Linked DNA regions of Homo sapiens: region 1 is linked to region 2. The links are contacts of gene promoters, found by promoter capture Hi-C in blood cells and fetal thymus (Javierre and others, 2016). All regions are on one chromosome and are shown on one strand. Each heading gives the region's core, a stretch centred on a gene start or on the middle of the fragment in contact. The rest is flanking DNA. Distances are from core to core; before and after follow the strand shown. Region 1 overlaps CHD2 (chromodomain helicase DNA binding protein 2). Region 2 holds the start of PRC1-AS1 (PRC1 antisense RNA 1).

Region 1 (4,659 bases), core at 1,545-4,044, 2.0 Mb after region 2:
GTGGAAGATGATTCTCGCCTGTTGCTGGGGATTTATGAACATGGCTATGGAAACTGGGAGTTAATTAAAACAGACCCAGAGCTTAAATTAACTGACAAAGTAAGTAACCCTACCATGCTAGAGATTTCTAGAAGATTTGTTGTGTAATATTTTTATATCGATTACTTATTTCTAACTATTTTCGAGGGGGCATCAAATTAGAAATTAGTATAGTCATTCTTGGAAATACTTCCATCTTTAGCAGATTGTGGCACTGTTTCACGGATGAAGATAAAGGGAAAAGACAGTAGCCAGGTGAAATTTTGGGGAAACTGTAGGAGAAATCTTAAAATTCTGGTATTTAATTATAGGTCAGATTTCATTACAATAAATACCCAGGTGAGTTTGTTAATGATAAAAGCATTCCTTGGCCTTAGTTATTGGCCCTTTGTTTAAAAGTACATTTGAAACAACCATATTTCACTTCCTCACGTAAAGATTGAATGTCACCTTGGTATTCTTTGTAATGGAATTAAACATTGGCTGTTCTTCTCCCACAAAATCGAGCCTCCCACCCTATCTGTTGCAAGTAGCAAGGCCATGGTTGGAGCTATAAGCAGGGAAGGCTGACTGGCTCAAATTTTGGTAGGATTTGCTCCATGTTGTGCTCCTGGCAGTTCAACAGTGCTCATCCCATCTGGTTTTAGGAGGGTGACAGCACCCTGCCTTAAGCACTGAGACCAGATTCAGTCTGGCAAGAGACCCAGTTGTTGTAGCAAGGAACAGATCATGTCCTGGCGTAGCTCAGTGCTCTCCGGCAATGCTCTAAGAAGCATTTTCAATCTAAAACGAAGCTTTAACCTAGCTCCAGGGATTCCCTGCTCCTGGAAGGAGGAAATCCACGACGGCTGGGATGCTCTAGCAGATGAAGCCACAAGCCCCTCCTACCTGAGTTGTTCTACCCTGTTAACAGCACAGGTAGGAGCCATTGGGAGAGCTGGATTTCTCCATCCCATTTTGTAAAATGAGAACGGCTCGTGAGGGATTTTCAGTGACTGGGAGCCATGGACATGAGATAGGATCTGAGGCTTTATCTATATTTTGGGTGGTTGGGGAGGGAAAGGACTGTGCTCAGTTTTTGTTGTCTCTGTTTATCCTGATCCACTAACCAGGATGTGGGTGGTGGCGGGTGCTTCTCTTCCTTTCTTGTTGAAGATTCTGCCGGTGGAGACAGATAAAAAGCCTCAGGGGAAGCAGCTACAGACCCGAGCGGATTACTTGTTGAAGCTGCTCAGAAAGGGTCTGGAGAAGAAGGGGGCTGTGACAGGTGGGGAAGAGGTGAGTACGCTGCCAGCTGGTTGTTTTTCAGGGGCCTGAGGCTCCTACCCTGCAGAATTAGGTAGGAAGAGAGAGGCCCTCTCTGAGCACTGCACAGAATGTCACCTTCTCATGGGCATATTTTGTTTTTGAGGTTCCAGTAATGATGCTTTGCTTGGTAATAATAGAAATGTTCATTTAGGCCTGGCGCAGTGGCTCATGCCTGTAATCCCAGCACTTTGGGAGGCTGAGGCGGGCGGATCACAAGGTCAGGAGATTGAGACCATCCTGGCTAATATGGTGAAACCCCGTCTCTACTAAAAATACAAAAAAATTAGCCGGGCGTGGTGGCACACGCCTGTAATCCCAGCTACTTAGGAGGCTGAGGCAGGAGAATGGTGTGAACCCGGGAGGCGGAGCTTGCAGTGAGCCGAGTTCGGGCCACTGCACTCCGGCCTGGGCAACAGAGCGAGACTCCGTCTCAAAAAAAAAAAAAAAAAAAAAAAAAAAAAAAAAATTCATTTAAGACCACGGCATCTTGGCAGCTTTCTTACAAACCCATCCTTCTGAAATGTTGCTTCAAATTCATCCTCTGCTCCCCAGTCCCACTATTCCACACATACTGTTACTGTTTCTTTATCCTACTTTCTCAATTTTGGAACATAGTTGCAGTTACTGCATTGAATACCTGTGGGTTTGCCTGTTGTTCTGTCTGTCTCTGTGGTTCTTGTAATAGTGGATCCCAGAGATAAAATGGACAGTTGTAATGCACAGTTAATTCAGAAACTAGACCTTACTTGCTGTGTGAAATACCAACTAAATTCTCAGTGAACTCAGCTGAGCTTTATCTCCTTTTGTTTCCCCAATTTATAATTTCAGTTCAGGCCCAGAAAGATGGAATCCCAGCTAAGAAATACAAGTTACACCCTGTACTAGCAGCCCATGTGTGCATGTTCTTTAAGTGCTCTTGCAGCTATGTCATTTATATTGATTTCCCTGTATTATTATAAGCAAAGCAAATTTGAGGAAAAAAACCCATAATACCACACCTCATTTTTTTCAAGTAATAGGGTCATAAGTCTCATTCTTCATATAATATGTTGAGTATGCAATATATTATGTGTTAGGCTCTGGAAAGGCAGAGGTTAGATCATGTTACAGATCATATCTGATTAGGCAGATAAACAGTATTTTAACCTTTTCCTTATTATATGTAACTTGCTTTCAGGTTTTTTAATGTTACTATTATGTCTTTAATATATTATCTTTATTTGTACTTTTGTATACAGAGTGATTTTCCTTTTTTAAAAAAAATTGTGTCTTTAGGATGGATTCCAAAGATGTGGAATCAGTAGGTTTAAGGAATATGGATATTTTGGCTGGCAAGGTGGCTCACACCTGTAATCCCAGCACTTTGGGAGGCTGAGGTGGGTGGATCACCTGAAGTCAGGAGTTCGAGACCAGCCTGACCAACATGGCGAAACCCTGTTTCTACTAAAGACACACAAAAAATTAGCCAGTGGTGGTGGCATGTGCTTGTAGTCCCACTTAGCTACTCGAGAGGCTGAGGCAGGAGAATCGCTTGAACCCGGGAGGCAGAGGTTGCAGTGAGGCAAGATGGCACCTCTACACTCCAGCCTGGGTGACAGTGCAAGACTCCATCTCGGAAAAAAAAACGAAAAAGGAATATGGACATTTTAATGTGGTATAGGCCATGTATAAGGCCTATAGGTTTTTATTTGTTTTGGTTTGGTCTTGTGAGGTAAAATGAGTTGCACTCTTTTGATTTCTTTGGAATTTTCTTGTTTGAATTATATGGCTGCTACTGCTTTAAAGAGTCATCATGTTGTTTGGTTATGCTTTTGAGTGTCTTGATTTGTATTTTAATCATCATTTTCTCTCCTTTTCCAGGCCAAATTAAAGAAGCGGAAGCCTCGGGTAAAGAAGGAAAACAAAGTGCCCAGGCTGAAAGAGGAGCATGGAATTGAGCTTTCATCTCCTAGGCATTCAGATAATCCATCAGAAGAGGGAGAAGTGAAAGTATGAAGTGGGGTTTCGGTTGAGGGTTATTTATTTATTTTAGCTATACTTATCATGCCAGCTGGAATAAAATCATCTGAAATGTGTTTGGTTTACGAGTGGATTAAATGGAAATAGAATATGTAAGTCTTCGCTTAATCTGTCAGCGAGGATAGTTTAAGTCAGCAACTGCAAATTTGTACATAATGGAAGTAAATGAAGGGGACTATGACATTTTTGTTGTTGTTGTTTGTTTGTTTGTTTTTGAGATGAAGTCTCGCTCTTGTCCGCGAGGCTGGAGTGCAATGGCACAATCCTGGCTCGCTGCAATCTCTGCCTCCCAGGTTCAAGCAATTCTCCTGCTTCAACCTCCCAAGTAGCTGGGATTACAGGCACCTGCCACCACGCCAGGCTCATTTTTGTATTGTAAGTAGAGATGGGGTTTCACCATGTTGGCCAGGCTGGTCTCAAAACTCCTGACCTCAGGTGATCTTCCTGCCTCGGCCTCCCAAAGTGCTGGGATTACAGGCGTGAGTCACCGCGCCCGTCCTAAAGTTTTAATGATAAATGGCGATTGACACGTAGCCTCATTCTTGCAAATGACGGGGAGTGGTCAGGACTGTGGTTAACCAGAGAGCTCATGCCTAATGTAAAGGGGGCAGCTGCTATGGAGTTCTGTTAACAAAACTCCTGTGGGTCAGGTTTGGCTTGCCAGTTTGTAACCTCTGGTCTAAGTAAAGTGAATAGTAAGTTGGTATCATTTAGTGTGCTATTTCAGTGACAACTTTATGGAATTTCTGAGAGTGTAATTGTACTTGGATATTAGCTCCAAGAGGATCAGCAGTGTGTACAGGAACTAGCATGGATTTGAGTCATACATACAGATATTTATTTATTTATTATGAGTTGCTTTTTGAGATGGAGTCTTGCTTTGTCACCCAGGGTAGAGTGCAGTGGCGCGATCTGGGCTCACAGCAGCTTCCACCTCCTGGGTTCAAGTGATTCTCCTGCCGCAGCCTCCCAAATAGCTAGGATTACAGGCACCTGCCACCACACCTGGCTAGTTTTTGTATTTTTAGAAGAGACAGGGTTTCACCATGTTGGCCAGGCTGGTGTCAAACTCCTGACCTCAGGTGACAGGTCTGCCTCAGCCTCCCAAAGTGCTGGAATTATGAGCATGAGCCACTGTGCCTGGCCAATACATACGTACATTTAAATACTAGCAACCTAATCAGTTATTAGCTGACTTTGTATAGGTATATAATCTCTTTGGTACTCAGTTTCCATCCGTGAAATGAGAATAATAAACTTACGTTGAAGGGTTGCTATGAGAATTAAATGAGA
Region 2 (5,926 bases), core at 695-3,194:
TAGCTGAGATTACAGGTGTGTGCCACCACAGCCAGCTAATTTTTGTATTTTTAGTAGAGATGGGGTTTCACCATGTTGGCCAGGCTGGTCTCGAACTCCTGACCTCGTGATCTGCCCACCTTAGCCTCCCAAAGTGCTGGGATTACAGGCGTGAGCCACCATGCCCGGCCCAGTTTGGCATTTCTTAAAAAGTTAAGTGTACACATACCATAGATGTGATCCAGCCATTTCACTCCTAGGTATTTATCCAGAAAAAAAAATATATCCATACAAAGACTTGTACATGAATGTTTATAACAGCCTTGTTTTTAATAGCCAAAAACTGGAGAAAAGCCAAATGTGAAAAATAAACCTAACAGGCGAATAAACTGGTATATCAACACCATGGAATACTAAGCAAAAAAAAAAAAAAAAAAAAAAAAAAAAAAAAAAAAGAATTATGGATATAAGCAACAATATGGGTAAATCTGAAAGTAGTGAAAGAACCAGACCAAAAAAATATATACTGTATGATTCTACTTACATCGAACTGTAGAAAACGCAAACTAATCTGTAGTAACAAATCGGTGGGCCAGGTACAGTGGCTCATGCCTGTAGTCCTAGCACTTTGGGAGGCCGAGGTGGGCGGATCATGAGGTCAGGAGATCGAGACCATCCTAGCTAATACAGTGAAACCCTGTCTGTCTGTACCAAAAATACAAAAATTTACCAGGCGTGATGGCACGTGCCTGCAGTCCCAGCTACGCGGGAGGCTGAGGCAGGAGAATCCCTTGAACCTGGGAGGCAGAGATTGCAGTGAGCTGAGATTGTGCCACTGCACTCCAGCCTGGCAAGAGCGAGACTCCATCTCAAAAAAAAAAAAAAAAAAAAAAAAAAAAATCAGTGGTTGCTCGGCAGGGTGAGGCTGGGAAGGAGGAGTGAGAAAGGGGTGGGAAGAACTGCTGGGGTAGAGAGACTTGGTTAACTGGACTGTGGCGATGGTTTTTCTCTTACGCTTCACATGTGTGCAGTTTATGTCCATCCTCCTTCAGTAACGCTGTTGAAGTTGGGCAGCCTCCCCATATTGAGACAAACGGCATTGAAGCCAGAAGCATCCTAGGACTCCCTTTGCTCTCTACACATCAGGGGTTAGGTTTTATATTTCTCACCAAAAAATTAGAGTAAGAGATATTCTTAATTTAGAAATGTACCAGAGAATATTTTAAAAATCACACTCGGCCGGGTGCTGTGGCTCATGCCTGTCATCCCAGCACTTTGGGAGGCAGGCAGATCATCTGAGGTCAGGAGTTCAAGACCAGCCTGGCCAACATGGTGAAAGCCTGTCTCTACTAAAAATACAAAAATTAGCCAGGTGTGATGGTGCGTGCCTGTAATCCCAGCAAATCGGGAGGCTGAGGCAGGAGAATCGCTTGAACCTGGGAGGTGGAAGTTGCACTGAACCAAGATAGTGCCACTGTACTCCAGCCTGGGCGACAGAGTGAGACTCAAAAAAAAAAATCACACTCCTGACTAAAAATTTCCAGGAGGTCCTTTTAGTTTTTTGTGTTTGTTTTTCACACACAGACCAACCAACTAAAAAGTGACTGGGGAAAAAAAGGAAACACCACACTATATCTTTTTGAAATGTAAGTATACAGATTTTAATTTATTTTTAAGAATAATTGTATATTTTAAAAACAGGACACGTACTGTATGAGTAAACAGCGTGGCTAACACCAAGTCCACACTGGTAAGCTTTTGAGAACCATTTACACTATGTTGACAGTAGTACTGCTGCAGGCAGACAGCGGAAGAATAAATAATAGTGCTTCAAGAAGAGTAGTGATTGAGAGGATAGGTAAAGAGGGCGCCTCATCGTGGAAGCTAGAGCAGGAACACCTCCCCAGTAGTGACATGTGCAAAGTTCCAGATCTCCACGACAAAGACAGCTCAACCCATTGGAACAAACAGACTCCCAATGTGGCTGGCAACTGCGGGGGTAGAAGAACTCAGGCAAAGTAGGCACAGGAATGGGGGAGATGAGAGCCAAGGGACAAACGCCGAGAAAGCGTTCCGACAAGCATGTGTGTTCATACATGCATACCCCCAACAAAGGGCAATGCACTGTGTAACAGAACTGAACACAATTTAACAAAGCTGCTCCCAGCCTTCCTGTCACCTCTTTGGCAGTAGGGCAGGCCATCTCAACTTCGGACACACAAAGACATTCTCTTCAGGAGGAAGGCTGTCCTGTGTGGTGGGGACAAGGCTTCAGGTAAGAGCAAAGCTATGATAGCTACAGCATTAATTGAACATGCCTAAACAAAAAAGATGTTAATTACTAGTTACAGGTATACATGCCAAAATTACCCCCAGGGATGGGCATAGTCAATCATTTTCCTACAGTGGTGAAATAAAACAAGCTTTGATCATGCTTCAGCAAGTAGAATTATGTGGTAGAGAAGTCAGGCCCCATATGCTAAAATTTGCACTTCTTGCCATAAACTTTTCATGTATATAAGTCAAAACCAAGTCTCCTAGGACCACTAAACCTATGATGGGCTTTCAACTGTAACACTCATTCACATCTTTAAGTTAGGCCCATGGTCATGGAACCTGGCCAAGGTTTCAAGCACGCCTAAGCTGAAGAAAAACTAAAGTCACCCCCATATAATTAGGTCCAGTCTAGGCACAGGAAGCCACAGCTGGTTGACTGATCAGGGCTTCTCAGGACTGGATGTTGGTTGAATTGAGGATTCCAGAAGTAGCATCAGATTTGGAAGCCTTTGAAAGTTCTCGCTGTTGAAAAATAAATAACATCAGTGGCCATACTGCCTCTCTTACACATGGCCCACCCTTCTAAGTTTGGTTAAGTGTCAGCAAAAGGTCCCTTGAAGGTAGTTTCTCTGAGATCCCTAGCCTGCAATAGGCTGCGTTAGGAGTAAAAGGTGAGGAACTCTGAGCACCATTCTATTAGTCACAGACAGAGTGCATGTGCACGCATGCCCGTGACCCCTTTTTCCTCAGCCAGTCCATTCTGTTACACCTCACAGAAGAGAAATCCTTCATACAGTCATGCACTGCATAATGATGTTTCAGTTAACGACAGGCCACATACACTATGGTGGTCCCATAAGATTATACCATATTTTTACTGTACCTTTTCTATGTTTAGATACACAAATACTTACCATTGCGTTACAATTGCCTACAGTATCCCAGGAATAGCCTGAATCAAAAAAACCCACAATTGCCTACAGTATTCTTTCTGTAACATGCTGCCCAGGTTTGTAGCCTAGGAGGAAAACGCCATACCATATAGTTTAGGTGTGTAGGCTGTTCTGTCTAGGACTGTTAAGTACACTCTGATATGTGCACAATGAAATTGCCCCACATTCTCAGAACATATCCCTGTCATTAAGCGAGGCATGACTCTACTTCACAGAGCTACTTTAGAGTTGTCAAGGTAAGTAGGCAACAAGCTTTGGTCTCTTGAGCCCTTTATAAAACAATGGGCCAGAACATATATCTACCAATCCCTGGGGCTGAGGCCTTGTAACCTGCTGGTGATTTGATCTCATGCTGGAGCACATGGTAGAGCAGCAAAAGATAAAGCATGAATGGCTATTGAGAAAGACAGATATTAGCAGAGGTTAGTTTACCGGCTTTGGTGCTGCCTGGTGGAGTCTATCAGCCATAGCAACCCAAACCAGACGAACCTACCTAGGACTAGCCACACAGATAGGCAGGTACATTTAAGCCTCAGATAAAATGGGCCTTGGTTGAACAAGCGAAAAAGAGAAAGCTGGACCTCTGTCCAGCAATCAGCCAGAGTGACACACACCCACTTTTAAAGGTAGAAGCACCACCAGCCACGTAATTTGAAAAACATGCTGGAGTAGGAAGCCAGTTTCAGTGATCAAAACTAGCTGCAGCCTTGGCCAACTGTTCCATTCTCTATCCCTGCAGCAATTAAGAGGGGAGGCAGGCTAGGGGTTTAACTCAATATCCCCTCAAGGGTGAGGAACATCCTCTCCTCTTGCTAGTAAAATATTGAGAGAAGAAATCACAGATTAAGTAAAAGGCAGTGTAGTTAGGTGTTAGCAAATATAGAGTAGGATACTAGGAAGTGAAGAGCATTCTGGAAAAACTTGCTTCCAGTGCTTCATCTATGCTTCAGTAGCTCAATGTATGGAAAGAGGCAAAGGTGAGGAAATCAGCATTAGCTAGCTGAGAATAGAGCTGGCGGTTAAGCCCTGAGGGGTTAGGAAGGCATATACTCCAGGAAATAATCAGCACACAGGCCAAGAGCCTCATTGTAGGCAGCACACAGCTGGGGCTCCCTTCCCCATGTGATTGGGGGCCTCTATTCTTTCCAGCTATTGCAGGCCTTTGATGTCACAATTGGGGAGGGTCAAGGTTTTCTGTTAAACGTGATTTAAAACTGTGCCTGACTTTAGGGGCTGAGAATCCAATTCAAGTCTGAACAAATTTTATTAATTAATCTGTTGTGAATGTAAATCAGATGTGTTTTTTTGAGTCCATGATAGGAATTCCTGCTTCCTTTGTAACACTGCTGAGATTATTAGTTAGTGTAGCCCTGTGCCCAGATGAATGAAGCCAGCAGATGACAGATCAGTTTGGAAAAGGGACATGCAGGGATTGCCATACAGACCTGAAGCCCAACAGTGGAACTGTCAGAGAGGGACGGATCCTTCTAAGAACAAAGAATTAAGACAATTACCAAGAACTCCACCAAGAGAGCACCAGGACAGTGATAGAGGGGTTGCCTCCTGCAGCCAGGGAATGGTATGTATTAAGCAGAAGGATCCAGGTTAAATGTCTAGTTGCTGCTGCCAACTTCCTTCCTACACAACCCCCCCTTAAATCACACCCACCCTGCCATGGTCAAAGCAGGAAAGGGATTCTCAGCCTCCAAGGTAGCTGCCCTAGCTAATAGCCTGGGTGCCCCTGGGAAGATACCCACTCTGCCCCAACTGTGTGCTCCCCAGAGACTGGTAGATATTAGAAAAGGTGAATTACCGCAAACTCAGAATAGGTGCTGGCAACAGAATTAATGCTGAAGTTGCGCTGGAGGGGGGCCGAGCCAGGGTACCCACCACTCAGGATGCTGCCGTTGAGCTCCAGGTTCTCCTTGTTGGCTCCATGCCTGCCAGTACGGGGTGTTTTCTTCCCTGAACAGGTGGAAGCAGCGACTGGCTGCAGAGAAAGGAAAGAGATCCATGTATCATCCTTCTAATGAACGTGCACACGCACACACAATACCTGCACTGGTCAAAGGCTGAGACTATCTTTATATTCATGTCTATAATCCTATACTTTTTAGTTAAAAAAAAAACATATATATATATATATATATATATATATATATATATATGGGGCTGGGTGTGGCTCATGCCTATAATCCCAACACTTTGGGAGGCCAAGGCAGGAGGATTGCTTGAGGCGACATGTTCGAGACCAGCCTGGGCAACATAGCAAAACACTGTCTCTAGAAAAAAATTTTTTTTAAATATGAATTCTTGATTTACAGAACACCTATCTTGAGCATAGTCTAATAAAATATTTGAAAGACTGAATGTGTTTTGCCACATACTTTCCACATCTCTACTGAGTACCTGGCATGTCTAGTGATCTGGTTTCACTGGGCTAGAACCCACATGTAGGGGACCTATCTCCATACCAGCTGAGGACTGGGCTTGGAATTGAGTCTACAGCGACCCTGCCTGATCTTCAGTTTCCCAGACACATCCCAGTGCTTCCCATGGTACCAGTGGGGCTCAGAGTGACTGTTCTCTTTTTTTGCACGTTAGTTTTGGACCATTATTTAATGGTGAGCTAGCTTATATCTGTCAACTCTCAGCATCTCAATAAGAACCAAATCCAGGGATCTTAGAATCTAGAACAAGTAGGTGGGGCCTCTGGG

The links. Contacts are between HindIII fragments. The CHiCAGO score rates a contact against its expected background, and 5 or more counts as called.
Region 1: a fragment that was not itself captured here is called in contact with the fragment with the promoter of PRC1-AS1 in region 2 in 1 of 17 cell types (erythroblasts); the score reaches 7.3 in erythroblasts.

What each region holds. Positions count from the first base shown.
Region 1 is chr15:92,997,305-93,001,963 of GRCh38, forward strand. It overlaps CHD2 (chromodomain helicase DNA binding protein 2), which reads left to right. Exons shown (of 39, transcript NM_001271.4): 30 at 1-99; 31 at 1,195-1,317; 32 at 3,208-3,336. Among named protein-coding and RNA genes, the nearest start is that of RGMA, 90 kb to the right of the region's middle. The HindIII fragment of the contact is 3,926 bases long and covers 832-4,659 here.
Region 2 is chr15:90,964,425-90,970,350 of GRCh38, forward strand. It overlaps PRC1-AS1 (PRC1 antisense RNA 1), which reads left to right and starts at 1,945. Exons shown (of 4, transcript NR_051984.1): 1 at 1,945-2,254. PRC1 (protein regulator of cytokinesis 1) reads right to left here. Exons shown (of 15, transcript NM_003981.4): 13 at 5,023-5,199; 14 at 4,655-4,696; 15 at 1,616-2,778. The coding sequence ends at 2,707. The HindIII fragment of the contact is 668 bases long and covers 1,733-2,400 here.